Regions from separate parts of the Homo sapiens genome. Here region 2 is linked to region 1. The links are contacts of gene promoters, found by promoter capture Hi-C in blood cells and fetal thymus (Javierre and others, 2016). All regions are on one chromosome and are shown on one strand. The core of a region is centred on a gene start or on the middle of the fragment in contact, and the rest is flanking DNA. Distances in the headings are between cores, read along the strand shown. Region 1 holds the start of MATR3 (matrin 3). Region 2 overlaps CTNNA1-AS1 (CTNNA1 antisense RNA 1).

The links. Contacts are between HindIII fragments. The CHiCAGO score rates a contact against its expected background, and 5 or more counts as called.
Region 2: a contact is called between a fragment that was not itself captured here and the fragment with the promoter of MATR3 in region 1, in 1 of 17 cell types (endothelial precursors). The highest score is 5.2, in endothelial precursors.

What each region holds. Positions count from the first base shown.
Region 1 is chr5:139,292,443-139,295,142 of GRCh38, reverse strand. MATR3 (matrin 3) reads right to left here and starts at 1,403. Exons shown (of 15, transcript NM_018834.6): 1 at 1,338-1,403. LOC124901081 (a long non-coding RNA gene) reads left to right here and starts at 1,586. Exons shown (of 4, transcript XR_007058956.1): 1 at 1,586-1,869. RefSeq lists enhancers at 1-627, 628-1,331. The HindIII fragment of the contact is 8,607 bases long and covers 1-2,700 here.
Region 2 is chr5:138,747,641-138,750,340 of GRCh38, reverse strand. All of the region lies in intron 1 of CTNNA1-AS1 (CTNNA1 antisense RNA 1), which reads left to right. Among named protein-coding and RNA genes, the nearest start is that of CTNNA1, 4.4 kb to the left of the region's middle. The HindIII fragment of the contact is 805 bases long and covers 976-1,780 here.

The sequences.
Region 1 (2,700 bases), core at 154-2,653:
ATAGCCTGAAACATCATTTTTGTCCGCATAGTCAACTGTTTAGATTTCCCTGGGAGAAAAATGTATTTTACCGACTATTCAGAAATCTTAAGCCAAGGTTTAAAACACAGAACGCAGTACCAATACAAAATCTCGTGACCCCTACCTACGAAATCAACGATTCTTCACATTATTCCAGCGCGCCCGAAAGACTAGCCATTTCAGAACCACCATAACCGTTCTAGAAATATCTGGCTAAAAAACTGTAACTGATCCAATAGGAATATTCCACAGAACAGGGCCACAGAGCAGGATAAACACCTAGGGGATATTCATCCACGGTAAATGCCGAACACAGAACATGGCACAGAGCTCGAAATGCAAAGAACGATGCGGCGACTACACCACGGTACTCCAAAACCCTTTGTCTGGAAACCGGAAGGTCCCACACCACACGATCCTCTCTGGAGGAACCTGGACTAATACTATTTTGATAAAGAGAAAAAGGATGTGAGGTGACTTGACTAAACAAGTGCAAATCACCCGCCTCGCACTGTACTGCAGGCGGCTTGTTCCACGACGCAGTACGAAAAACAAGCGTTAACGTTTCATTTTTCGGCCATTTTTACGCGATGGGGGGCGGGGAGGAATTGTTTCTGATGTCCAGCTAACGCCGCGCGCGCGCGCGCGTGTGGGCCGGGAGTCTTAGGGGGCGCTCTGAGGCGATGGGCAAGGAGCGGCGTGAAGGCCGAGACACCGGGAAAAGAAAGAAACGCTGCTCAAACAAGCAGGCTCTTCAGAGTCTGCGAAATCCTCCATTTTGGGGGAACATTTTCAGAGAAAAAAAGGCGAACGGGTTATTTGGCACTGGCGCTACCCAAGGACTTAGATATCTTAACCATCCTCCTCAAACGGCAAGCCCCCAGTGTACAGTCTGTCCCTCAGGCCTCGAGCGAGCTCCTCCCTCCCCCTCAGCGCCGCGGCCCGCGTGTAACGGGCTAGTCGTCCCGCCCCCGCCCACAACGAGCCCAGGACGCGCAGGAAGCTCGGCCGGTCAGCGCACCTCTTCACCCAAAATCTCCCGCCGCACCCTGGGCCCTTGGCCGGCCGCGTGTTTCCCTCCCGGACCGCTCACCTCCGCCGCCCTAGAAGGCTGGTTGCGCCGCCACTGCGCTCCTAACATGGCGGCCGCCGATCAGGCGGCTCACATACGCAACGCGGAGGGAGGCAGAGCGGGAGCGAGCAAGAAAGGCGCGCCGCCGGCTCCCCGCAGCCCCTGTCGCCGTCGTTGTCCCCTCCCGGCGGACACGGAGAACCCCCAGCCACCCGACCCCGACTCTTACCCGCTTCACGCCTACCTTAGGGAAAGGGAGAGGGAAAAGGAGAGGTACCTCTCTCCCAGCGAGCGGGACGCGGAGACTCCCACAATCCCCCGCAGCAACGGCGCTGGCGAGAAGCGGCGGCAGCGGCTGCAGCCCAAGAACAAACCCACTCTCGCGAGAGAGCTCGCCCCCACCCCCTCGATCTGGTTCGGCGCGCGCCAGGCCCCTCCCCCTACTCAGCGCGCGCACCTCGCTCGTGCACTCGCCTGCGGTCGTTGTTCTTTAATCCCGGAGATCCCTCTCCGTCATCCAGCTGAGGCGGGAAATGGAGGAACAGACGTGGCTTACGAGTTCGAGTCCCATTCCCGAAAAGGCTGTTTGTCAACCTCCTGAATAGCATAATACAAAGTTTAAATAGGGTATGCCTTAGAAGGGATTCGCGAGAGTCCCTGGCTTAGACTCGACTTTTATGCTCTCTGGTTGTTCTGTTTGCCAAGGAATGGTGGAAAGCGCCAGATATTGGGGCCACAAAGGGAAAACGATACCATTTTGGCTGGTTTTTATTTAGGTATGTTTATTTATTTATCATAAATAAACTGTGTTGCTCAGGTTGGAGTGCGCTGGCGTTATCATGGCTCATTGCAGCCTCGAACTCCTATCCTCAAGGGATCCTCCCACCTCAGCCTCCCCAGTAGCTGGGACTACAGGCTCGCACCACCATGGCCAGCTAACTTTTTTATTTTTATTTTTTCCGTAGAGATGGTGTCTCGTTATTTTGCCTAGGCTGGTCTGGAACTCCTTGGCTCAAGCAGTGCTCCCGCCTCCGCCTCTCAGCATTGGATTAAGGGCGTGAGCCTACACGCCCAGCCAGCTGTTTTTTTTGTTTTGTTTTTTGTTTTGAGACGGAGTCTCACTCTGTCACCCAGGCTGGAGTGCAGTGGCGCGATCTCGGCTCACTGCAAACTCCGCCTCCCGGGTTCACGCCATTCTCCTGCCTCAGCCTCCGGAGTAGCTGGGACTACAGGCGCCCGCCACGACGCCTGGCTAATTTCTTTTTGCATTTTTAATAGAGGCGGGGGTTTCACCGTGTTAGCCAGGATGCTCTCGATCTCCTGACCTTGTGATCCGCCCGCCTCGGCCTCCCAAAGTGGCCAGCTGGTTTTTAAAATCAGGAATTCTGTGCAGGAGGGTCGTTGAGGCGGAGGACCGCGAGCCTTTTCCTTCCTAAAGACCACCGCCGCCTTTTGGTGAATTTGACTGAATGCAATACACTCTTGGGACTGAGGTACTGGTTAGGTACCCGGGTTGGAGGGATTTGAGCTCCGGCCTTCAGAGGCTTAAGTAAATTGTTTGGAGACCTAATCTGGCTGCAACTCTCTCCCCAACCATCCTTGCAGAA
Region 2 (2,700 bases), core at 129-2,628, 540 kb after region 1:
CACTTTTGTCACCCAGACTGCAACCTCTACCTCCTGGATTCAAACGATTCTCCTGCCTCAGCTTACCAAGTAGCTGGGATTACAGGTGCACACCACCACGCCCGGCTAATTTTTGTATTTTCAGTAGAGACGGAGTTTTACCGTGTTGGCCAGGCTGGTCTCGAACTCTTGACCTCAGGTGATCCGCCTGCCTCAGCCTCCCAAAGTGCTGGGATACAGGCATAAGCCACCGCACCCGGCCTGTTTTTTCTTTATAAATTACACAGTCTCAGGTATTTCTTTTTAGCAGTGCAAGAACAGCCTAACACAATAGTAATCAGTCAATAAAGTATTTGGATAAAGTAACAAGAGACAGAGTTAAAGGATTATGCTCCATAACTTTGTATATTCATCATTTCACTCGGGACAAGATTCTTAATTTTAAGGCCCCTTGTTCAAAAACTATTAACCATTTTAAGACAGCAACAGCAGAGTATTAAACCAAGCATGGGCTCTTTCTTTATTATTATTATTTTTTTATTTTTATTTATTTATTTATTTATTTTTGAGACGGAGTCTTGCTCTGTCACCAGGCTGGAGTGCAGTGGTGTGATCTCGGTTCACTACAACCTCCGCCTCCTGGGTTCAAGCGATTCTCCTGCCTCAGCCTCCCAAGTAGCTGGGACTACAGGCGCCTGCCACCACGCCCAACTAATTTTTGTATTTTTAGTAGAGATGGGGTTTCAGCATGTTGGCCAGGATGGTCTCAATCTCTTGACCTTGTGATCTGCCTGCCTCAGCCTCCCAAAGTGCTGGGATTACAGGTGTGAGCCACTGCGCCCAGCCAGCATGGGATCTCTCTAAGCATGGGACCCTGAAGATGAAATTACAGGGTTTGTTTTGGGAAAAGAAGGGTAAGGTGACAGGAAGATATGAGAGATTTGCAGTGTGCCTAAAGAGAGTCAGTTTCCTACTCCTGAGAAATCGTGAAAAGCTTACCAGGGAAGGCTGGAGCATTCTCTATATCCCAGGCACTTGCTGTGTGCTGAGGAAGTGAATAAAAACTGAGACTGACTTGATCCCTGTTTTCACACCACTTAAAGGTAATGATGAAGACAGATACTAAAACAGGTAAACTGACTGGGCACGGTGGCTCATGCCGGTAATTCCAGCATTCTGGGAGGCTGAGGCGGAGGATCGTTTGCGTTCAGGAGTTGGAGACCAGCCTGCACAACATGGCAAAACCCTGTCTTTACAAAGGATACAAAAATTAGCTGGGTGTGGTGGCATGCACCTGTAGTCCCAGCTATGTGGAGAGGGCTGAGGTGGGAGGATCACTTGAGCCAGGGAGGTGGAGTTTGATGTGAGGCGAGATTGCACCACTGCACTCCAGCCTGAGCAACAGATTGAGACCCTGTGTCAATACACACACACACACACACACACACACACACACAGGCACACACGTAAACCAGGAAAAAAGAAAGGCAAGTGTGAAGATAGGGGAGAGATACATGTAGGTTTGTGGGTAAATTAACTACCCTGGGATTCGGAGACCTGAGAAGTGACCTTTATGTGGTGACTCATCTCCAGTCTGGCTTTAGCATTCGCCTTTCCACCAAAACTGCTTTTATGAAGGTCCCTGATGGCCTCCACGTTGCAAAATCCAATGGTCCGTCCTTCCTCAGTTGACTTGTACAATCAGCAGCATTTGGTCACTCTCCTCCTTGAAACACTTTCTTCATTGGGCCTCCAGGGCACCAGGCTTTCCTGATTTCCATCCAGCCTTCCTGGCTAAGCTTCTTAGTCTCCATTGATGATGACTTCTAATTCCTCCTAACCTCTAAATGTTAGAGCAGGGATTCTCAAAGTATAGTCTGGACATCACTGATAACTTTTCAGGGAGTAATGTGGTAAAAACTATTTTCACAATAATTCTAAAATATCATTTGCTTTTTTATGCTCATTTTCTCCCGGGTGTACAGTAGAGTATTCCACAGGCTAAATGATGTATGATGTGGCATCACATGCAATGTGAAAGCACATATGAGAATCCAGCTATCTTTTATTAAGTCAGATAGAGATTTGTAAAAATGCAAAACAACAACAGTTCTCCCTGAATTTTTCTTTTGTTTTAGAAAACATGGTTATTTTTCTTTTCAAAAATGTTATTTATTGATAAGATGTAATGGACTTGCTATTGTTATTTTTTAATGAATTAATAAATATTTTGAAATTGTTTATTTTAATTTCTAATACAGGGTCTTGCTCTGTTGCCCAGGCTGGAGTGCAGTGGTGCTATCATAGCTCAGTGTAGCCTTGATCTCCCAGGTGCAAGCAATCCTTCCACCTCAGCCTCCCCAGTAGCTGGGACTACAGATGCACACCACCACGTGTGGTTAATTTTTAAATTTTTCTTTTGTAGAAACAGGGGTCTCACTCTGTTGACCAAGCTGGTTTTGAACTCCAAGCCTCAGTGATCCTGCTGCCTCAGCCTCCCAAAGTGTTGAGATTACAGGTGTGAGCCACCCTGCCAGGCCTATAGTAAATATTGATAGATAAAACTTTCATAAGCAAGAGTTCTTTGAGATCTTCAAATTTTTTATAGTGTAAAGGAGTCTTGAGATCAAAAAAAGTTAAAAACTTTGGCTGGGTGCGGTGGCTCACACCTGTAATCCCAGCACTTTGGGAGGCCGAGGCGGGTGGATCACCCAAGGTTGG